4 separate regions of the Homo sapiens genome follow, and regions 2, 3 and 4 are each linked to region 1. Evidence: promoter capture Hi-C in 16 types of primary human blood cells and fetal thymus (Javierre and others, 2016). All regions are on one chromosome and are shown on one strand. The core of a region is centred on a gene start or on the middle of the fragment in contact, and the rest is flanking DNA. Distances in the headings are between cores, read along the strand shown. Region 1 holds the start of SERPINB8 (serpin family B member 8). Region 2 has its middle 26 kb from the start of PMAIP1. Region 3 overlaps PMAIP1 (phorbol-12-myristate-13-acetate-induced protein 1). Region 4 holds the start of DSEL-AS1 (DSEL antisense RNA 1).

Region 1 (5,770 bases), core at 1,268-3,767:
GACTAGTTGATGGGTGCGGCAAACCAACATGGCTCATGTATACCTATGTATCAAACTTGCATATTGTGCACTTTTACCCTAGAGCTTAAAGTATAATAATAAAAAAGAAACAACCCAAATGTCCATCAAAAACAGAATGGATAAATGGATTGTAGTATATTAGTATAATGGAATACAGAACAATAAAAACTGAAAGAACCATATCTATAAGTTCTTTAGTTTTTGACATGGACAATTCCCACAAATAATGTATTAAAGGATTAAGCCACAGAGTAATACAGTATTATTCCATATACGTAAAGTTCAAAACCAGGCTAAACTAAATCATTCTGGATGCATGTGTAGACAGTAAAACTATGTCGTTATTATCATGAAACTCAGGAAGGTGGTGATACAGAGGGGAGGGAAGCGGATGTGATGAGGGAGGAGGGTGTGATCAGTAGGGAAACACGGCCTCCAGCGATGACAATATTCCAGTTATTAAACTGGGTGATGGGTTGTACTGCTGTTCTTTATAATTCAATACACATTTTAAATGTTCTTTTGTATTTATTCAATAGGTAATGAAACTTATTAAAACCACATATCAAAAAAAAAAAGAAAAAAGAAAAGCCGGGCAGGCATTCCGTAGGTGGTGAAATGGGGGATGCAAATAATAGGCTGAGGAATTAGCAGGTGCCAAGAATGTGGCAGGAAGACAAAGGGCATGGTTTGTGTGGTGCCCCTGGGGTGGGTTTCTATGGTTTCCTGTGAGCCACGTGGTAGTGAGATAGGACGGACCCTTATGCCACATTTAGGAGTTTGAACTTGAGATTATGGTCTGGAAAGCCATGCATGGTTTTTAAACAAACGTCTCATATGAGTGCATTGGGGCTTTAGAAAGATAACCCGGCTCAGTATTTGGTATGAAAAGAGGCTGGGGAGCTGGCGCGTAGGCCACCACCATGGGCCAGGGACTGCTGAAAGCAGAGGGATTGTCTGCAATAGAGAAGTGGGGGCTGGAATTGCCAGGCAGTGACTGCTCACATAGGGACAGAGCACAGGAGGGCCCAGTCCCGAGGCGCCTAGCTGTTATAAATTCATACTCAGGGTGGGTCGTGAACCACTGGAATTTTAAATGAGGAGTCAGGCTGGAATGGGGAATATGACTTGTTCCATTTGAGATGCGTGGAACACACCATACCAGGTGAACCTGTAACAAAGACAGCCAAGGATGTTTGTAAACAGTTAGGGACGGGGATGAGTAGACTGTCTAGAGCCAGAGACCTGGAGCCATCAGCATCCCGATTCCGAGAGGTTCCATGAGAATGGATGAAACTACACAGAACATCTAGTGGAGGCACAAGGGAAGAAATCCACCTATTTCTGTGGAATTTCCAATATCTGGAGGTAGTAAAAGGAAGAGACAGAGGAGGGCGAGGGGAGAGCGCGCGCGCGAAACGGAGACTGAGACCCAGCCATCAGGGTGTGCTGGGAGAACTGGGGAGACGAGTCTGCCCCTGCGAGTGGACCCAGGGAAGAGGGCGCGGTCTACGCAGAGCCCGAGGCAGGGAAGCGGGAGGGGCCCGGAGAGCAGCCCTGGGTGAGGCCCTTTGGAATGGAGAGGTCTCAGGAGTGAAGCAGCAGCCAGAGGACTGAGAGTGTCTGGAAAGTGAGGAATTGGTTAAAGTAACGCCGGTGGCTGCAACAGAGAGGGGCGTAGGTGAAGAAGCACCCCCAACCCCATCCCATTTGAGAGGAAGCAGACAATGAAGAAGAGAATATGAAAGATACAGAAAGATGAAGGCAGGGGTGGAAAGAACGGAGGGGGGGGACAGGAAGGGAAGGAGAAGGTGCAACCAATAGGCTGTAAGCACAGGGGCAAGCTTGGGCGCCAGGGGAGCAGGGACTCGGCGCCTCCCCGATCTGCCCCAGGCGCCACGGAAATTCCAGGCCCCGCCACCCGCACTCCCGGAGCCTCCTCCGCAGCGGCGGCTCCTCCCACTCGCCCTCCCGGGGCTCCCGCCCAAGCTTCCGGCGCTTCCAAACTCACTGCTCGCGTCACCCCCCGCTCCCATCCGGCAGCAAATCACAGCGCAGCAAATCGCAAGCCTAGAAACAGACGCTCCCTCTCCAGGGGCAGCTTCCTATTCAGGGCGGGTCTGGGCGCACCTGTTCTCGGGACCCGGCCCTCGGCCTTCGCCGGGTCTCGCGGTGGGGCTTGGGACCCCGGCTGGTGCCAGGGCGACCCCCACAGCCCCGCGACTCTCTTTCCCGGCCGCCTCCCGCCGTCATTCTCCTAGTTCCTGCCCGCCTTTGCCTCGCTCTGATTCCTGCTCTGGCCTTCCTCCCTTCCCCTCTCTCACGCACTCCAGGGAAGAGGTGGCCTCCGCGGGAACCTGGGCACCTCCGTGCCTGCCCCGCCCGGTACCTGGCAGAGGCCCCCACCTCCTGCTGCTGCTGCTGCTGCCGCCGCCGCCGCCGCCGCTGCTGCTTTGACTATTCCTCCTTTGTAGATGCTTCACGTCCGCCTTGATTGAGGGCAAGGCTTCCGGCAGATGACTCAGAACCGTTCGATTGCTCTGGCTTGTGCAATCCCTGATTCTTTGGGCCTGTGTGGATGTCTGTGGGCACCGGAGAGAGGGCCAGTGCCTGGTCCTTGGAGGGTGGTTTTTATAAAAAGTGTACACATTGGCTATTGTCCTTTTTTCACCGTTGATTCACGTTTGACTCCACTGTAGTTAGACGTCCACCCAAACATTCTCTGAAATTGCTCCTGATAAGGATACTAATCATTTTCTAATTGCCTTGGCCAAAAAATACATCCCAGGTCTTATTTCATTTTGTTTGTTGGCGACATTTAGCCCTTTCTTCTTTGACCTTCCCAGGATTTCCAGAGCACCCTTCCCTTCTTTCCTGACTCCTTTGCTTGGTATCCTGATTCCTTTCCTACCATTCTAAGCCCTCTTCTTTTCATTATAATATGATCTTCTTGTATGACCTCCACTATATCCATAGGTTCATGTTTCAACTTTTAACTTATTTCTTCAAAATCTCTAACCTGTCTCGAGCCGTAGATGTTACCTGTGTACTACTGGACATCTCTCAGAAACCTGGGTGTGTCCCTCCGCAGTTCTTTTAACTAAATGATCAACAGTCCTGTTACTTCTATCACTTTTGTGTTCCTCCTGTCCATACTCTGTCACCTCTATCATGTCTCATGTCTCTCCTAAACAATTAATTTTCCTACCTACAGTTCTGATCCATGCCAACCTATTGCCTACTCTGAAGTTCAGGTAAACATTCCAATTCTAATTATTTTATACCTCAGTTTAAAATCCTTTATAACATCCTCTTATCCAAAAAGATAAATTAGAAACTATTGAGCAAGGAGTGTAAGCCTCTTCACGTCTTGATTTCTCCCTTCTTTTCTTTAGAGCCATAGCAAATTATTTACATTCCTTCATATCCTCTGTTCATATACATGGGGTTCCTGGCATGCAAGCTTGTCTTTCAAAATTCAGTTCAAATAATGTCTCCTGCAGGAAGCTCTCACAGAGCTCTCCAGTTTGGGAATTCTGCTTTTAAAGATGCACATTCCCACTCTGCACCCCAAACCAATTAAGTAAAGATCTCTTGGAGGAGGGAACCCAGCAGCAGTATTTTGTAAAACTCGCTCAGTGATTTCCCTGTGGAATCCTAAAAGTAACTGTTCCCAAGAACTCTCCTCAATAAGTCTTGGTGCAGGATTCACCCCCATCTTTTCTCCATGACTTTGAAACCCCTCTCTCTAGTGGCTACAGACTCACATTTGAACTGTGCCCAAACTTACCGGCTCTGCCAGTTGAAAATGCCAAGGTCACTTCCCCATTGTGCATCAATTTCTCCTTGTTGGTCAGAACTAGATCCAGACTTTGGGCCCCACTTTGTCCATCCACTCCTTTTCCTCTTTGACCAGCAAAACAGATTAAAAGATGAAAAATGCTTGTTTTCCTCCGTGAAACTTCCAGCAAATGCCTGGTGGTTTGAAGTCCTTTACAAAGGATATAATTTGGCCCCTGGGAGTTTGGTTGTAAACACAGATATCCCATGTAGGAAACACAGTGCGTGCAGGTGCAAAGAGGCACAAGATAGCACCATGAAAACCATGACGTATCCAGGCCTGCAGTGGTACAGATAGTGTGGATGAGGCACTGCAAGACAACGTCTGATGTGTCCACAGGGCCATGTCGTGAAGGCCATGTGGACGCTGTTGGTGGTGTTTCTTCGTTCCCTTGTGGACTATGGGGAAACACAAAAGGATTTTAAGCTGGGGAGAAACATAATCATATTTGTATTTACGAAGGTCCCTCTGGCTGCAACATGGAGTATATTGTAGGAGGGTACCATTGCCTGCAGTGAGGCGTTAAGGACGCAGCATGGATGAGAGATGAGGAAAGCTGAAATGAAACAGAGGCAGGAGAAATGGAGAGGAGGACATGGCCTTGAGGAATTTCCAGGACATAAATTTGGCATCACTTCTTGGACCATGAGAGGAAGAGGGAGCAGGAAGAATCAAAGATGAATCCAAGAATGAACAAATCTAATTTTTGAAATAATGCAATGAAAAGTAGAACTGGTCTGTTTTCCTAGGTAAGGAATTTGTCTGCAAGTCGATATTCACGAGGATTAATTGTATTTATTTTCTGAGTATGGACAATTTAAATGCTGGGCCCTGAAGGGAAACCCATCTCTCAGAATAACTAAAGCCCAATTTCAGAGTGAGCCTGAACAGGCTCCCCACTCCACCCTGGCCCACTGGGGACACAACAGGTAACTGATAAGGTTCCAGAGTATATAATTCAGTGCCTCAGAAACTGTCCTCAGCCTCATCTTCTGTCTTCTTGCCTCATACCTAACTTCACATCTCTTCAGTCAGTACTAGGGAGTATCTGCTGGTTCTCAACTCCCGACTCAACCTTGACCTAGTTTTGTCTGACTCCCTCGGCTCCTGACTTTGTGGACCTCAGGAAGGGCACACTCCTAGGCTAGTCTCAGGTTGAGCTACCACCGTCTCCAAATTAGACTTCCACTTGTCAAGAAGGAAGTAGAGTCCAGGCATAATTGGAGCTTCCTGGGGTGATTCGAGGTCTCTGTACTCCTTGCTGTAAAATGCACAAATACTCCACCTTAAAGAATCTCACGGGGCAGGGCACAGTGGCTCATGCCTGTAATCCCAGCACTTTTGGAGGCCGAGGCGGGCGGATCACCTGAGGTCAGGAGTTCCAGACCAGCCTGGCCAACGTGGTGAAACCCCGTCTCTGCTAAAAATACAAAAATGAGCCAGGCGTGGTGGCAGGTGCCTGTAACCCCAGCTACTAGGGGGCACTGAAGCAGGAGAACTGCTTGAACCTCGGGAGGTTGCAGTGAGTTGAGATTGTGCCACTGCACTCCAGCCTGGGCAACAGAGCGAGACTGTCTCAAACAAACAAACAAAAAACAAAGAGTCTCACCGGAGTTCCAAAATATCCTTCAGTGACTGACCATATACTCTAGCAAAAGTTACTTCATATATGCCCGGCCACAGCTCTCAATCTCCCATGAGATTCCCAGCAATCTTCCCTGGTTTTGAGAAAGTGTAAAAAAACACAAAAAGCAAAAACAAAACACACTTGCTTCAGCTAATTAATGCTAGAGAAACAAACATAGCATCATAAAATGTAAGCATTTGAAAGAACCATATTGTTGACGCTGTTCCTTATATTTTGCAGGAGAGGATGGTGAAATAGAGGTAGTTTGTGTGATTTGCCCA
Region 2 (5,770 bases), core at 1,235-3,734, 4.1 Mb after region 1:
TTTTTTTTTTTTTTTTTTTTGAGACAGAGTTTCACTCTTGTTGCCCAGGCTGGAGTGCAATGGCCAGATGTGGGCTCACTGCAACCTCTGCCTCCCAGGTTCAAGCGATTCTTCTGCCTCAGCCTCCCTAGTAGCTGGAATTACAGGTGCCCACCACCAAGCGCCCCTAGTTTTTTGTATTTTTAGTAGAGACCGGGTTTCACCATGTTGGCCAGGCTGGTCTTGAACTCCTGACCTCAGGCAACCCACCTGCCTCGGCCTCCCAAAGTGCTGGGATTACAGGCGTGAGCCACCGTGCCCAGCCTGTTTTACTTTTTACTTCTATGAGATTAACTATTTTTAGCTTTGCCACAAGAGTAAGAACATGTTGTGTTTAACTTTCTGTTCCAGGTTTATTTCCCTTAACATAATGTCCTCCAGTTCCATCCATGTTGCTGCAAATGACAGGATTTCATTCTTTTTTATGGCTTAATAGTATTCCGAGGTGTATATGTACCACATTTTCTTTATCCATTCATCTCTTATTGGAATCAATGATTTCATATCTTGGCTCTTGGGAATACTGTTTGAATAAACGTGGAGGTGCAGACTATCTGAAAATAACTTTGGGACTAGAGCACAAAATTCTGACCAGTTAAGGGTAAAGAGTGACGGCTAGCATAAAAGACACCCCTTTTTTGAGGCTGTCTTTTGTGAGATTTCTATCAGTTCCATATCTTGAGAAAATTGTTTGTGGCTATGGTTTCTGATGTCACTTTCCAGTGCAGGGTAATCTCTCCTAGGTGCTATTTTCAGCTGAGGATTTGTTTTTAAGTCACAAGTTTCAGTTCAACATTGTTATTCACCAAATATGTCTCCTGTTTTTGCTTTTTATACCTACAGGCTCCTGGATAACTAGGATAATGTAAATGGATTAGACTGTAATTTCAGGGGCACACATTTCATACAGTGTCTTATTTAACTTTCACCGCCACCCTGTAAAGTAAGAATTGTTTCGATTTTACAAGATATGAAAACTGCCCTTGGCTAAATTGCTAGCAAAAGCAGGGCAGAGTTGAGATTCAAATAAACAAGGTTCAACCTGGAGGACCTTATGCTCAGTGAAATAAGACACACAGAAAGACACAAGCTGTGTGATCTCACTTCTGTGTGGAATCTTAAAAAATCAACTCACAGAAGCAGAGAGTAGAATGATGGTTGCCAGGGGCCAAGGGGGATGGTGAGAGAAATAGGGAGAAGACAGCCAAAGAGTACACACTTTCAGTTACAAGATGAACATGTTCTTGCCCGGGCGCGGTGGCTCACGCCTGTAATCCCAGCACTTTGGGAGGCCGAGGAGGGCAGATCACGAGGTCAGGAGATCGAGACCATCCTGGCTAACACGGTGAAACCCTGTCTCTACTAAAAAATACAAAAAAAAGTTAGCCGGGCGTGGTGGCGGGCGCCTGTATTCCCAGTTACGCGGGAGGCTGAGGCAGGAGAATGGCGTGAACCCGGTAGGCGGAGCTTGCAGTGAGCCGAGATTGCGCCACTGCACTCCAGCCTGGGCGACAGCAAGACTCTGTCTCAAAAAAAAATACATTCTGTACATCATAGTGACTATAGTTAAGGATACTGTGTTGATTACTTGAAATTTGCTGAGAGAGTAAGCTTAAGTGTTGTCACACACACACACATTCACATGCACAGAAAATGGTAACTTGGTGAGGTGATGGATGTATTAATTAATATGATTGTGGTAATCATGTGGTAATCATTGTGGTAAACAATGTATACATATATCAAATCATTATGTTGTAAACTATATATATATTTTATTTTATTTTTTATTTTTTTAAATTGAGACAAAGTCTCTCCCTGTCACCCAGGCTGGAGTGCAAATTCACCACAACCTCTCCCTCCTGGGTTCGAGCGATTCTTGTGCCTCAGCCTCCCGAGTAGCTGGGATTAAAGGCATGCGCCACCCCACCAGGCTAATTTTTTTTTTTTTCCACATAGAGTTTCGTTCTTGTCACCCAGGCTGGAGTGCAGTGGCGCAATCTCGGCTCACTGCAACCTCCGCCTCCCGGGTTCAAGTGATTCTCCTGCCTCAGCCTCCCAAGTAGCTGGGATTACAGGCGCCCACTACCACAGCCAGCTAATGTTTTGTATTTTTAGTACAGATAGGGTTTCATCATGTTGGGCAGGCTGGTCTCAAACTCCTGACCTCGGGTGATCTGCCCGCCTCGGCCACCCAAAGTGCTGAGATTACAGGTGTGAGCCACCACGCCCAGCCTAATTTTTGTATTTTTAGTAGAGACAGGGTTTCACCATGTTGGCCAAGCTGGTCTCGAACTCCTGATCTCAAGTGATCTTCCCACCTCAGTCTCCCGAAGTGTTGGGATTACAGGCATGAGCCACCACACCTGGCCATGAATATATATAATTTTTTTTTTGTCAATTTTACCTCAATAAAGCTGGGGGAGAAAAACCAAAACCCAACAAGATAAATATAAGAGGTTTTCATTCTAAAATTCAGGCTATTTCCTGACACCGACGTTCTTTGCACTGGTCTATACCAGTTCTCAAGTCTGTTTTCATGGATTTGTCTCAGGCAGCTCTTAAAGAGAGGTGATCTACCTCTAAACTTGAACATCAAGAGTAAAGTGTGCGACAGTGGTCGGTGCATTCTGGGTGCATGAGACATGTCAGCCTTCGATGATGAGTCACATCAGTAGTTTATGAATTCCACCAAGGAAGATGAAGTCCAGGCCATTTGAAAACAAACCAGCATGATGTAATTTCTCCTTTGATCGCTCAAATGACCAAATATGTGTAAAATCCCTTCGTAAACCCTGAGACAATTTTATGAAAGTAAACGGATTTATTGTAGTTGTATTTTGGTTTTAGTTGCTTGTTGTTTCTTCAGTCTTCAATTGGAGCTGTTCTGTAAAAGTGTCTTTCCAAATAGATATTGTAATAAAAATACTGTAATAATTTCTAATGGAATCATATCCATTTAGAGTTTTGTCCCAGAAGGATTTATCTCACCCGATAGCAGAGTTTTCTGAATAGCCTCTAAAGTGGGAAGCGTCTTGGTGGCTTCCTCCAACTTTATCTGGAAAGTTTTCAGGCTTTTTCACATTGTTTTCTAGGATTCTTGGTGGCAGATAGAGAACACAATTTGGAATAAAATCTGGACTTTCATTCTAACAGACAGAAGTTTCCATAATGCCTACTCCTTTCTAATGTTTGTATAAATATAAGGATATGACCCAGTTGTTTTTAGATCAACGTCAGATATAATCATTTCCTGCCCAGATGCACAGAAGAAGCTTGGAAATTTGTGCTTGTCTATTTTAAAAAAGAATCAAGAGTGAAAGCCAAAGATTTTTGTTTTTTGTTTTGTTTTTGTTTTTGTTTTGAGATGAGATCTCACTCTGTCAACCAGACTGGACTGCAATGGAGTGATCTAGGTTCACTGCAACCTCTGTCTCCTGAGTTTAAGCGATCCTCCCACCTCAGCCCCGTGAGTGGCTGGAACTACAGGCACATGCCACCACTTCTGGCTATTTGTTTGTATTTTTGGTAGAGACAGGGTTTTGCCATGTTGCCCAGGCTGGTCTCGAACTCCTGAGCTCAAGCAATTCGGCCACCTTGGCCTCCCAAAGTGCTGGGATTACAGGCATGAGCTGCCGCGCCTGGCCAAAAGCCAAAGGTTTGATTGTGAAGGCCCTGTGTCACTCAATATTAGGATAGATCTACTAGCTGGATATTAGTTGTCAGTTCAAGTGGCTTGAACTCTGTTTTAATACTAACAGTGGCATTGAACAAAATAGCAAGAAGTAGCATAATTAATTATTCAAATAAGGCAAATTATTAAGAATTTTAGAAATTCAAATATCCAGCTTTAAAAGCTAAAAGCCAGGCCAGGTGCAGTGGCTCACACCTGTAATTCCAGCACTTTGGGAGGCTGAGGCGGGCGGATCACCTGAGTTCAGGAATTTGAGACCAGTCTGGCCAACATGGTGAAACCCCGTCTCTACCAAAAATACAAAAATTAGCCAGGCATGGTGGCACCTGTAATTCCAGCTACTCTGGTGGCTGAGGCAGGACAATCACGTGAACCTGGGAGATGGAGGTTACAGTGAGCCAAGATTGCACCACTGCACTCCAGCCTGGGCAACAAGAACAAAACTCGTCTCAAAAACAAAACAAAACCAAAAAAAAAAAGAAAAGAAAGAAAAAAGGTAAAAGCCAGCTTTGTGCCAAAATCCTTTATGATTGGCTGATTTCCTTTACAAAATTCAACATGTTTTCACTGAGTGTATTTTTCAAACCCAGGGTTTGTAAATAGACATTTATGAGCCCAGATCTCTTTTTGAGATTCTCCTTTGTGAGATTTCTAGAACCTCCCCCTGCCCCCTATCAGTTCCATTATCTTGAGAAAATTGTTTGTGGCTGTAGTTTCTGATGTCACTCTCCAGTGCAGGGACATCTCGCCTAGATGCTATTTTCAGCTGAGGATTTGTTTTTAAGTCACAAGGTTCAGTTCTACATTGTTATTCAGCAAATATGTCTCCTGTTTACCATTTTAAGTGGTATACAATAAAAAGGAGTTCTCAAAATTTCAAGAAAAATAAACCTTTGCATCCTTTATACATTTCAGAACTTTATATAAAATGTATATAATTCATTAATCTTTGAAAAGAAACAAGAAAATAGTGAGAAGCTATACCTAAAAACACTTGTGTGTGGTTTTTTTGTTTGTTTGTTGTTTGTTTGAGACGGAGTCTCACTCTGTCGCCCAGGCTGATCTCCAACTCCTGGGCTCAAGAAATCCTCAGGCGTCTGCTTCCCAAAGTGCTAGGGTTGCAGGTGTGAGCCACAGTGCCCGGTCAGGTCAGTACTTAAGTTTTAAACAGGCATTGAATTCCAAGCTTAAAGTCATTTCAGCCAGGTGCAGTGATGTGTGGTTTTAGTCCCAGCCACTCCATAGGCTGAGGTGGGAGGACGCTTGAGCCCAGGAGTTCAGGGCTGCAGTGTGCAGTAATGGAGCCTGTGAATAACCACTGCACTCTAGCATGGGCAAAAGAAGGAGACTGTCTCAAAAAAAAAAAATCATTTCATAAAATACTGAAGGGAGTAAAGGGAAACAAGTCTACGGTGGAGAGTCTTGGAGTCTAGTCCCGACTCTAACTCAGTCCCGACTCTAACTCAGCATGTGATCTTAGGCAGCGGACGTGTCTGAACTACAGGGGATTTAACACTTAGTTGCATACATATTTGCCAGGACCTGAGTTTTGTTTATTCAAAGTATCAGACTCCTCATCTTCACAGTCAAAAATGTTTTGAAAATAAAACTCTCAGTCTTCAGGTTGCAGGTTACAATAAGAGCAATTTCATTTTCTTTTCTTTTTCTTTTTTTTTTTTTTTTAAGACAGGGTCTCACTCTGTAGCCCAGGCTGGAGTGCAGTGGCACAATCACAGCTCACTGCAACCTCAACCTCCTAGGCTCAAGTGATCCTCCCACTTCAGCCTCCTGAGTAGCTGGGACTACAGGCGAGTGCCACCACGCATGGCTAATTTTTGTAATTTTTTCGTAGAGACAGGGTGTCAATTTGTTCCCCAGACTGGCCTCGAACTCCTGGGCTCAAGCGATCCACCCACCTCGGCCTCCCATAGTGCTAGAATCACAGGCGTGAGCCATCATGCCCAGACCTAAGAGCAATTTTCAATACAGCAAAAGTCTTCATCAAAATTTACTGTGAGAAAAGGGCCCATGTAACTA
Region 3 (5,770 bases), core at 2,087-4,586, 4.1 Mb after region 1:
AGAGTTGCACAAAGTGGCGAAATGACAATTCTGAAGCCAGAGGCAATGACAATGACAATTGTGGGAGAGGGACATAGTCGTTTTGAAAATGGCTGAGTAAAGATGTGAATTTGGAAATGGGCAAATGTCATAGGCTCTGCTAGAGATCATAGTGAGAGAGCATGAGAAGAACAATAGAGGCATTTTCCTAAAACACAAGAAATATCAAGGAGTTATTTGCACATTCTATGTTGTTCTATTCTATCTTATTGCACAGTGTAAATCCAAGCTGAGGCTTCTCGCACTGAGCAATGTCTAATGGCAGACAGCATAGATTACATGGACTGTATCAGGGCGGGGGGTGGTTGGGAGGTGCCCAGAGCATGTGGTTAATTACTTGATAAATTAAAGAATCCAAAATCCCCATCTATAACTCTTACCAACTCTCCTGTTTCTCTGGTGATTTGAAGAATGGTATATTTGGAAGAAAACCATAAGGGAATAAATCGTGAGCATGAATGTTTCACCCTGAATTGGCTAAACAGATTTCTGAAAGTTTTTAAAAGAGAAACTAAAGTTAGTGCCTGGGCAGTATTGACAAATGTTTTGCTCTTTAACCATGAACTATTACTTGAGAAGATTCACGTGATGACACCGCAGGGTATGTCTATCAAGTGACCCTATCTACTTTCAGCTCCACATAAGAAGGAATTCTGGCAGTGATACAATCACTGGGAAAGCTTGCATGCATAGCAAACTCCCCTTTCTAAGAAAATACAAGTCCAAGAGGTTCCCACTCAACCTCCTCTAAGATTTAGAATCAATGTTTGGGGGAAGAATCCAGAAAACAGAAATTTGGGGGGGGGGGTCTTTTAAAATCCCACTCCCCTGCTTCTTTTTGCAAACCCTTAACTTTCCTCTTAGTGTCTGAAATGAGCTCAGGAGTGGGGGCCGACAGACTTGGAACTATGGTGGGAGACCTTCAGACTCCTTTGCCATCCCATTTTATGATTCAAACTTCAGGGGACCTTAAAGATGATCTAAGTCTCAATTTCAGAGATTAACTGTGGCTCAGAGAGGTTGTCTTGCCCAAGGTCACACAGCTCATTCATGATTTTGCCTTGAAAGTCCACCTTCAAGATTCTAAAGTGGGATACTCCTTGTACCGCAGCACTTCCAGTCACTATTCTATTTTTAAGGTGTTTGTTCTCTTCCTGATGGATCGTCCCCTTTGACGATTGACAATGAGATTTACAGGATTTTTGACCCTTTAGGTGGTTTCTGCTCCGTGATTGAGAGGAAGTGGGGCAGGGAGGAGTTTGTAGAGTTATTGCAATGGATTCCAAAACCCAAATCACAGCACACAGTTCTTTAAAGTGAAGAACAACTTATTCACAGATAGATACATTTTCTTTTATAATATAAATGCAAATTTAAAAGCTAGCAGTTTTTGTCAGTCAACAGATATAATTAGAATTGCCTGAACATCTTGGACATTTTTTAACATTAAAATATGGTTCTCAAAGAATATATAGCTCTAATATCTGAAGATTGTGAATCTGTGCCTAAGCCTTCATGTGCTACTCTTTATATAAAAGAAGAGCCTGAGGTACACTTTTTTTCCTTGTTTTCTAGTGGTGGCGAGAACTAATAAGGTGCACTTTTAGCAAAACAATTCTGGCTATGCGAGCAGGCTCAGAGACAGGAGTTACTCTTCCAGTGATTCTCAAATCAAATCATGTAGTTTGTCCCCACCCTTTCTGAAGCCAAGCTCCCACCTCCACCCCACTTTCCCAGAGAAAAGCCTCTCCCTCCAGATTGTTATGTATCTTGCCCATAACCCTGCATCCTCCAGCTCTCTGGTTCTTCTTTTCCTCTAGTAACTCCTCCTTCTTCCCTCACGTTTCCCATGTTAGGAAGGCAATTTACATTCTAAGGTGTCAGCTGACTCTTTCCCTTGGCAGAGGTGGGGTGAAGATGTGGCTACCAGATTGAAGCTAAAAACTAGGGGTATCTTTTAGTTCTCACACTCAAACAGGAAGGCCATTGAGTTACACCTACTTTTGCACATGACTAACCTCAGATGAAGCAATCTTTGCTACTCTACGGCTGGAAGCAGAGGAAGAAGCGTGAGGTCACCAAAAAGGAAACTGCACTGCAGCTCCTCTTGCCAGACAGACCCAGGAGCAGTCAAGGATGCCAGCTCACAAAACACCTCTAATTAGATCATGAATCTGTATAGGCTGTAATCCCAGCACTTTGGGAGGCCGAGGCGGGCAGATGACTTGAGGCCAGGAGTTCAAGACCAGCCTGGCCAACATGGTGAAATCCCCGTCTCTACTAAAAACACAAAAATTACCCAGTGTGGTGGCGTGTGGGGGAGGCTTTAGCACGAGAATCACTTAGACCCAGGAGGCAGAGGTTGCAGTGAGCCAAAATTGTGCCAATGCACTCCAGCCTGGGCGACAGAGCAAGACTCTGTCTCAGAAAAAAAAAAAAAAAGGACCTATGTTGGGCATTCATTTCCTATTTTTCACTATTTCCCCTCCCAATTAAAGTGTAAGTCCCTTGAGAGCAGAAATCATGCAAACTCCCCTATATTTTCTACTCCAACTACTGGGAGGAGACAGTGTGGTCAGAAGGTCAGAGGATGTCTGCTGATGGAAATCAGTTAAAATACTTTGGCTTGATAATGAACACTTAGTAATTAGTAGCTTACAAGATGAAGACAAAATTAACACACAGAAAAGAACAGTGAAAACTTTTAATAGTTTACTGCCACAGTATCAACTTTTATATGTGTGCATATGTTTAAATACAAATTAGACCATAAATACCAGATGGTAAAATAGCTGCCTCTAGGCTGAAAAAAAAAACTCTCTACCACTAAATAAACAATCTTAAGTAATACTGAAGAAAACAGATGTGAGGTAATTTTCCATCTAAAGTGACTACAACCTACATTAAGACATTTTAACTAAAAATTCAAGTAGTTATAAGACTCTTGTAACTCAAAAATGTAACTTTAATACACATTTTCAAACTAAAGAAAAATACTTTAATTATAAATAGGCAAAATAAATAAAATTATTCCTGCTGAAATAAAATCAAGACATTATTTATTTGAGGACTGTATATAGCCCAGATAAAAAAAATGAAACTTACTTGAGACCCTACTAAGAAGCTATATAATACTCTAATACAAATTATCTATACAGATACCCATATAAGTATGTAAGTATGTGTATACATATATATTCACCAATGCATATATGGAACTTTCATTCTAGATGAGAACTAACTGTTCCTTTTTTTTAAGAAAAGTATATTCCAATTATGAAAATATTCTTAATTTACATTAAGAGATCACTTTTTGTAGGATGCACACTAATGTGACAAGGAGCATTTTCCGAACCTTTAGAAACTTCTTTAGAAACATTCATATCTTATCAAGTTACTTCTGAATATTTGTTCTACTAAGTTTCAAAAACATCAATTAAAAATTAACTTCTTTTTTCTTTTTATTATCCCTGGTTATACAAAATCCCCATGTTCTTTTATTATATTGAATGTTCAGTCTACTGATTTACTGGCCCCAAGTAACCCTCCTATACTTTATCCAATTTTTTCAAAGTTATTTTCCAGTTTTCCATAGTTTCTAGTAACGCCCAACAGGAACACATTGAATGAAAGATCATCTGAACAGAAGCAATACAATTTGAGTCAAAAGAAACAAATGATTTTACGTTGTGTAGTGACCGAAGAAATCAACACTGAGTATAACATTTCAGTGTTCTCAGAATGAGTTTTTTCATTATAACAAGGTAATATGTATAAACCGAATCATATACAATGTGCTGAGTTGGCACTGAAAAGCAAAACACCAAAAACAGCAACAACAACAATGCACTGAACTGTTTCTCCCCAGCCGCCCAGTCTAATCACAGGTCATCTCCCTTCACAGTAGGCCAGCGGTAATCTTCGGCAAAAACACTAGAACGATTCTCTAAGTAAAAAAGAAATGTGTCAATAATTACTTCTTTATTTTCAAGGGTCTTCCATTCTTGCTTTAAAATAAACAAAGTGGTTTTATAATGTTCTCTCATCCCAAAGAATGATAATCTGGGAAAACTTGAACAGAAATTCACTTTGATGTATTCCATCTTCCGTTTCCAAGGGCACCCATGAATGCACCTTCACATTCCTCTCAATTACAATGCAGTCTTTCTTCAAATTGATGAAACGTGCACCTCCTGAGAAAACTCTTTTGAAGGAGTCCCCTCATGCAAGTTTTTGATGCAGTCAGGTTCCTGAGCAGAAGAGTTTGGATATCAGATTCAGAAGTTTCTGCCGGAAGTTCAGTTTGTCTCCAAATCTCCTGAGTTGAGTAGCACACTCGACTTCCAGCTCTGAGAAGGAAAGCAAAACATGGACATGAACATTGATGATATTACAGACTGTAACCAGCAAAACCTAATACGCCCACACTAGTGACAAATTGAGTATCCCAGGAAGCATTTCTCTTAACTTTGGCTTTATGTGCACCTGTTTTCCAAATGTGACACACACACACACTTACACACATTGTGACTCACCGAAAGCAATCGTTAAGGTAAGAATAAAGACATTTACTTTGAGTTTTTAAAAAACGCATCCTGGATGAGGCAAGTGTTACCTTACTTTCAAATATGTCAAATACCACAAAGAGTAGCATTATCATTCTTTGGGATGTGAGAACATTGTAAAACCACTTTGTTTATTTTAAAAGCAATGCTACAAAGAGTAGCATAAGTCACCAGCCTTAGATGATGTCATCTTTTTCTCTTCATTTAAGGTTGGCTGGGAAACAGAAGTCAAGTTCTGTGTGGCTTTCAAGTAGGATTTGATTTTCAAATGGCAATAATTTACAGCTTAGGTTATACTCTCATTATATAGGCAAATCTAGAGGTATTCTTTTTCTCGTTAAAAAACGCTGATATTTTTTCATAAAAGACTCATAAAATCTTATTCTAAAATTAAGTCCACATTCTCTAAAATAATTTAAACATTTCTATTTTAATGTAAACCCACTTCTTCCTATAACCCCATTATGTACCAATCCATTGCCTTTATGGAAATGAGAGGAGCAGAAAATAAGCAATGTTTAATTCACATGTTTACTACTTTTTGGAATTGAGTTATTCTAACTGAATATTAAGAAAAATGATGCTTATAATTTCCAAGTACACTTTTTTTCAGTAAGTGCAGTTAACACTATACTGACTATAATATCGTATCTATACTGACTATAATTTCAATTTTCTTGAATATTTCAAAGAGCAGCTTGAGGTCTTTCGGGTACACTTCATGATTACAAACATTAAAAAATCATGATTACAAATTAAAATCTGGTCTATTTTATAAATCGACCCTGAAAATACCGTATTTAGGCTCAAAATAAATCAAAGCTGTCAATATATAGTAAAGCAAAATCTTAAACCTATATTTCAACCAATTTCTCTCTACAAGAAGTGAGTGAAATCTTTCCTAACTCCTACACCAAGAGACCTAATAAATCCCTTAAGGTGTTATTCTTTATGGGCTACAAGATCAAATATGTTGGGAAGTATTTACATAGACATGTTGTCTACAGAGATTGAGATATATTAATATACAGTTCTAAAAGAAAAACCAAATACCATTCAGCGTCCGACACTGGAAGCCCTGAATTCTAAGTGGAAAAGTTATCCCTTTCACCAAAAATGTAGAAAACAAGGCAGAAAATACTTCCCGGTCATTTCCTTAATTTTTT
Region 4 (5,770 bases), core at 1,334-3,833, 3.5 Mb before region 1:
GTCTGGGGAGGGCTTACTCTCTGCTTCCAAGATGATATCTCTTGCTGAATCCTCACATAATGGAAGAGGCAATAAAGAAATGAACACTGTGTCCTCATGTGGAGGAAGAGATGGAAGGTGCTATGGTCTCAACGTGTTCCCCCAAATCCAAGTGTTGGAAACGTATTCCCCAATGCAACAGTGTTAGGAGGTGTGGCCAAATGAGAAACCTGTTTAGTTCATGAAGAATGGATTAATGCTCTATAAAAAGGGCTGGTGGGAGTGGATTCTCTCTTTCTCCTCCTTTTCTGCCATGTGAAGATATAATGTCCTTCATCTCTGGAGGCTGCAGCTTTCAGGTGCCATCTTTGCAGTAGAGAAACTGGGCCCTAATCTGCCAGCACCTTGACCTTGGACTTCCTAGCCTCCAAAACTGTGAGGAAATAAATTTCCATTCATTATAAATTACCCAGGGTCAGGTATTCTGTTATATAAGCACAACATAGACTGAGACCAAAAGGCCAAAAGGAAACTAGGGCACCTTTTTTTTAAGGCACCTCTTTTATACGGCACTAATGTCATTCATGAGAAGAGGACTTCCCAAACGGCTCCACCTCTTAATACTACCAATTTGGTTCCAACATGTAAATTTTGGAGGGACACATACATTTTAGCCATAACGGCTGGCTCTAGAACAAACTGCAAATAGGTAATTGGCAAGTCAGGGGGACAATTTAGGAATTGATTTGAACTACCAACAATTAGCACATAATCAATTTTTAGAGTCAGTGGGATGGGTCAGAGTTTCTCATTCTCAGCAGTACTGACTTTCTAGTCTGCATAATTCTTTGACTTGTGAGGCAGGAGGAGAGGAGAAGTTGTCCTGTTCATTGCAGGCTATTTAGTAGCATCCTGACCTCTATTCACTAGATTCCAGCAGTCCCTCCCACTAACCGAGACCAACATTGAAATTTCTCCAGACATTGCCAAATGTCCTGTTGAGAAACACTGGTGTAAGGATACCAGGCCAGGGGAAAGGGAGGGTGGAAGAGCCCTGGAGAAAACATCTTATGATCCCTTTGCAAGTTTTACTTTGTTTAAATTTTTCTTTCATATCAAAAGCTAAACTGTATGTAAGCAAATATGGTAGCAATAAAGCTTCTCATTTATGAATTCAAGGCTTTAGTAGACTTATGGGGAAACTTTTTCCCCCAGAATTTGGCTTTGGTATTTTTAAGTTTTAATAAATCTACTTACTGTCATACTGACTCTTGTGCAGCTGGATAAACAAACTCAAGAAACACTCTTAGCCACATCTTCATTAGCAACTCTGCAGGCAAAATCCCTGTCATTTTGAGATGTTTTGTATTCAAAGCAATTGCGGAAAAAAAAAAAGTATTTCCAGACTCTACTGCCTGCTTTAAACTTGTGGTTTTGTCTTTATTATTGGTGTGGCCTATTACTGCTGGCCAACTGGGCAATAAAATTTGCAGCTTAAGTTTGGTGTCTGTTTCTAAACAGTTACAGATGCTATATCCCTAACCTCTGGGGCAGACACTAGTTCTAATACTGCTAGTGGATCAATATAATATACATCTGGCCCTGGTAAGTGGTTCGAGAAATCTGCATCTGAGCTTTCACGGCCAAAGCTGTAGCAAAGGTGGATTATGCTATGAGAAGAATAACAAAGCCGTCTCCATATTCAAATGGCTATGCTGCTTGAAAGCCCAGGTATTGGAGACCTGTGCATAGGAGTTGCTGAATGCACAGCAACTAGTTCTTGAATGTCTTGGCCCCATTTATTTAAAAACCACCAGAATAACAGATCATGGACAAATGTGATTTTAGATCAGGGACTTTATGTAGTGTCTAGGCTTGTTTTATGGCTTGTACTTTATCGTTCTCAGGCTCAGAGCTTGAATTTGCCTATCTTAACATATACAATTAATGCAGAAATCCTCTTGAAAATGTTGTATGACTTTCCAGTCTCATGTTTCACTTGAATTAAGTCACCTCAAGGCATAGCTCCAATTATGGGTTGTGTGGTAAGAGGCTTCTCAGCACAGTCAGGAGAAAGAGTGTGTGACTCTGCTTAGAATGTAGTAACCCACTTTAGACCTTTATGACTTTTTCTCTTCTGTCATAAAATGGGGGCGATAATTCATGTTAAACATTCACCAAACATTTTTCAAAAAGTGCCAGGCTCTGGGATAGATGTTGAGAAATAAAATTTTAAAAGAAAAATAAAAGAGAGAGAGAGGAAGGAAGAAAGGAAGGAAAGGAGCGCGAGAAAGGCTTCTGTTCTGGAGAATCTACTCTAGAAAGCATTGTTTCTGTTGTAAGATAGGTGGTTGTGGGTAGGTTGAAAGATAGGCAAATAAAGAAAACAGATTTTCATAAGTACTTTGAAATCACGGAGTAAAATCTCATGTAGATTTAAGATCCTTTTATATAGAGAGAAATCCCCAGAGCAATAGACTGCACTGTTCTTCACTTACATTAAAATAAGATACTGCTCCAGGATTCTGAATTTAGCAGCTGTTGGTACATGTGTCTCTTGCCACACTCATAAAGGTTTTTAATGTACAATAACATAGCATATAGCTCATCCCTTCTATGGTCGGATGCATTATTTATAATTAACTAACTTTGTACCATCTTCATGTGTGGAAGGAGCAATAATTGGAGCTATCCATTTTTAGTTCACAGAAAACAAGACTCTCTTCATTTTTGACAGTGCCATTTACCTACCACCCTTTCTGCCAATGATTTGAATTGTTCAGTTGTGGCTCTTGTTTTATTTTAATGCATTCACATTTTACCACTATGCAAAGATGTCTGTTCAAAATGAATTAGTCTGAAAGCCCATCTGAGAATGCTGGGAGGCTAGCTGCATCCCCACTGCTTCAGCACAGATGCATGGGGCAGAGCTGAAAGGCCACAATGTCGGTACCTGAATTCATTCTTCTCTAAAGTGAAAATGATCATACTGATATTTCAAAATCTGAAAACAACATTGGAAGAATATTTGCCTGGCAGATGTTCGCGCATTAATTCTCTCTGACTCACCTTGCCCTCGCATCATGAGACACTTTGAATCCATAGAAATAACCCTGCCCCACACTTTGTTCTGAGAAATGTTCTGTACATCTAGTAGCTGTGTTTACTAACCCTAAATTCTAGGCTCCCCTCTGCAAACAGATAGGAATCTCTGGAGTCAGCTCCCCGTTTCCCCCAACTCTACTCTCTCATAAATGTGGTTGGAGGCCATGGGTCCTCTTCCTCTATCAGGGGCCATGTAGAGGCACAATCCAGATTTTACAGGAAGTTGTGTCAGAAGAGGATCCTTGTTTGGGAATAAACCTCAGTGGAGGAGACGAGGCTCTGTATCAGCCCAATTGTTCGAGGTTCAACTCATTTCAAAAGCAGATATAGTACTTACAAAGGGGACTTGAGTGCTACTCATGACTTGAAGGAGTTTTGAATAGGGTACAGGAGTCAACCAGTTGAAATAGAAAGCAGAAAATAAACAACCTAAACGGCCGAATATAGGTACAAATGATATAGTTCTGGAGTAATACATTCTGGCTAGGGAAACTTAGGAGTTATTTACAGAAGAATGTAAGCATCTGAGTTGAGACCTGGATGATCAGATAATTTCAACAGTCAGAAGAATTTTAACTAGTAAGTGGGGTGGTTGGGTAAAGGACACTGTGAGGGAAAGAATGGAATAAGCATAGTTACTGAAGCACCCAAGCAAAAGCAAGTGTGGCTATTTGGACTGGGCTAGGGGTTACTACGGGGCCAAAACAGAAGAGTGATGAGGAGTTAGAGGCCACATTTCACCTCAAAGTTAAATGATTTGAAATTTATTCTGCTAGCAGTCGTCTACTGTTTGATTTTCAGCAGCAAATGATCTAAGCAAGACATTTATTTTTAAAATGTTAAAATATATCTTATTAAATATTACCAAAATAGTATGGGAAATGAAGAGACTGAATGTGTTACTAATCCCCAACTGAGAATGGAATTGTTCATTTGTGAAGCTTGATATTTCCCTGTATTTTTATTACTACTAAGCTATTATTTTTTACATTTGAGGTCAGAGCTTGGGTTGGTTTATGCCAAAGTGTCATCTCAGCTATCTGTGAGAAGCTCCATGTGTGGAGTGCAACAGGAGTCCCAGCCTGCTCTAGGATTTCCACGACCTGGCACTGCACTCACATGTCGTAGTAGCCGGGGCACACTGCCTTCTCCTGTCTGCATGTAGGTCTTTACCGAATACCAGGTCCCATTTTTAAATAAGAGGCTCCTTCTACTTGTTTGTCCCATGCTTCCCCTATTTATACTGCCTGAGAAATTGTTTTCCATCAGTAAAGCTGATTAGTCTTTTCTGTTTTCCCTTGATCTTTGTTAGCATCTGGGCTACAGAAGTTGTCCTCCTATATTAATCTGGGTATTTCGGTTTTGCTTTTCCAAAGGACAGCAAGCTCAGCCAGGCTGCCTCTCAGTTCCAAGGGAGTGCTCATTCCCTCCTTCCCCAGCCCTTGCTCTTTCCAAAAGGATGATTTCTGTCGTCCCAGGGCTTATCCCCTCCCACTCCAGCTCCTCCCATCATTTGAGTCAATCCCACAGCCCCCACTATGGCTCTATTATATAGTTGTCGTCTTCCCATAACCAAAAGGTTTTAACGCCAGCCTGGCAGCGTCTTTAGACTCTCGCACTCCCAAACTGTCCCCTCCTCCAGCTCGACTCCTCCGGGAGCGCGCGGCCACCGCTGCAAGCCCAGAACACAAACGCCTAGAGCTTCCTCCGCTTAGAAACCCGGGGCGCTTGGCCCCGCCTCACCTGCTTTCGGCCCCGCCCCGCCCGCCGCCGGCCTGCTCACGGCTCCTCCCGTCCTCCCCGAAGCCCCGCCTCTGACCCCGCCCTGTCCTGTCTCCGTCCCGCCCCACGCCCGCCAGCCAGCGTCGCTGTCTCTCGCCTTCCCTGAGGCCCCGCCTTCAGCCCCGCCTTCAACCCCGCCCCGTCCTGCCTCCGCCCCGCCCCCGCTTGCCGGCCCGCGTCGCCGTCTCACCCTCCCCGGGCTGCGCGGCCGGAGCTGGCACAGAGGATCCTCGGCCGCGGCGACATCACCGCCTGGGCACGCGGGCGCTGCTCTGGATACGGCGCCACCGAGAGAACCCGCCGCCCGCGGGTCTCTGTCCTGCGGTCCGTGGTTGCCCCCACAAGCGTCCGGCGTTTCCTGAGGGCGGGCGTGTCCGGGCCGTGCGGGTCGCGGGGACCGAGCGCGGCTGAGGAGACCGAGCTGGGGCAGCGCCTGCCGTAGCGCGGGAGACGACGCGGGGGTCTTGCGGAGCCCCGCGGGAGCCTGGCCCGCCGTGCAGAGCAGTTTTCTGGAACTCTCCACCTCCGTCTCCCTTGGGGCCCAGTGCGGCGCCGAGCCCCCGTCGGGATCTGCCTGAGGTAAGCGGACTTGGTGGCTCAGGGGTCTCTCGCCATCCTGCCTCACTCAGCCCCAGAGCGGGGAGCGGAGAATGGGGGCGGCAGGGTCGGAGGACGCCAGTGAAAAAATGCAACAGGCGGGGCGGATCAGGAAACTCCTAGCCTGAATGTTTCCTACAGAGGGGAGACTTGTCCAAGACTGAAACTTGCTTAGGTTCTTCCAGCCGCGGACGGGCACGGAGAGGCGTCTTTCGACACCGGGGTCCGAGCTCCCTCTGGCGGCTCCACCTGAGGACAGGGACTCGGCCACAGGTGAGCGCCGAGCGCGGAGCTCCCGCCCCTCGGC

Evidence for each region. Contacts are between HindIII fragments. The CHiCAGO score rates a contact against its expected background, and 5 or more counts as called.
Region 2: a fragment that was not itself captured here is called in contact with the fragment with the promoter of SERPINB8 in region 1 in 1 of 17 cell types (M0 macrophages); the score reaches 5.8 in M0 macrophages.
Region 3: a contact is called between a fragment that was not itself captured here and the fragment with the promoter of SERPINB8 in region 1, in 3 of 17 cell types (non-activated CD4 T cells, total CD8 T cells and activated CD4 T cells). The highest score is 17.0, in non-activated CD4 T cells.
Region 4: a contact is called between a fragment that was not itself captured here and the fragment with the promoter of SERPINB8 in region 1, in 1 of 17 cell types (non-activated CD4 T cells). The highest score is 6.2, in non-activated CD4 T cells.

Annotation. Positions count from the first base shown.
Region 1 is chr18:63,966,828-63,972,597 of GRCh38, reverse strand. SERPINB8 (serpin family B member 8) reads right to left here and starts at 2,517. Exons shown (of 7, transcript NM_002640.4): 1 at 2,428-2,517. LOC105372165 (a long non-coding RNA gene) reads left to right here and starts at 2,094. Exons shown (of 3, transcript XR_935576.3): 1 at 2,094-3,275; 2 at 4,325-4,611; 3 at 5,730-5,770. It also overlaps a transcript of HMSD not described here. RefSeq lists silencers at 1,816-2,035, 2,106-2,165, 2,176-2,375 and enhancers at 1,849-2,143, 2,436-2,605, 2,636-2,685. The HindIII fragment of the contact is 1,474 bases long and covers 2,013-3,486 here.
Region 2 is chr18:59,871,331-59,877,100 of GRCh38, reverse strand. No RefSeq gene overlaps it. Among named protein-coding and RNA genes, the nearest start is that of PMAIP1, 26 kb to the left of the region's middle. RefSeq lists an enhancer at 908-1,167. The HindIII fragment of the contact is 1,664 bases long and covers 1,653-3,316 here.
Region 3 is chr18:59,901,265-59,907,034 of GRCh38, reverse strand. PMAIP1 (phorbol-12-myristate-13-acetate-induced protein 1) reads right to left here. Exons shown (of 2, transcript NM_021127.3): 2 at 2,730-4,388. The coding sequence ends at 4,282. Among named protein-coding and RNA genes, the nearest start is that of PMAIP1, 4.2 kb to the right of the region's middle. RefSeq lists an enhancer at 2,040-2,209. The HindIII fragment of the contact is 5,229 bases long and covers 722-5,770 here.
Region 4 is chr18:67,516,036-67,521,805 of GRCh38, reverse strand. DSEL-AS1 (DSEL antisense RNA 1) reads right to left here and starts at 5,260. Exons shown (of 5, transcript NR_033921.1): 1 at 5,057-5,260. It overlaps DSEL (dermatan sulfate epimerase like), which reads left to right and starts at 5,086. Exons shown (of 2, transcript NM_032160.3): 1 at 5,086-5,445. The HindIII fragment of the contact is 2,888 bases long and covers 1,140-4,027 here.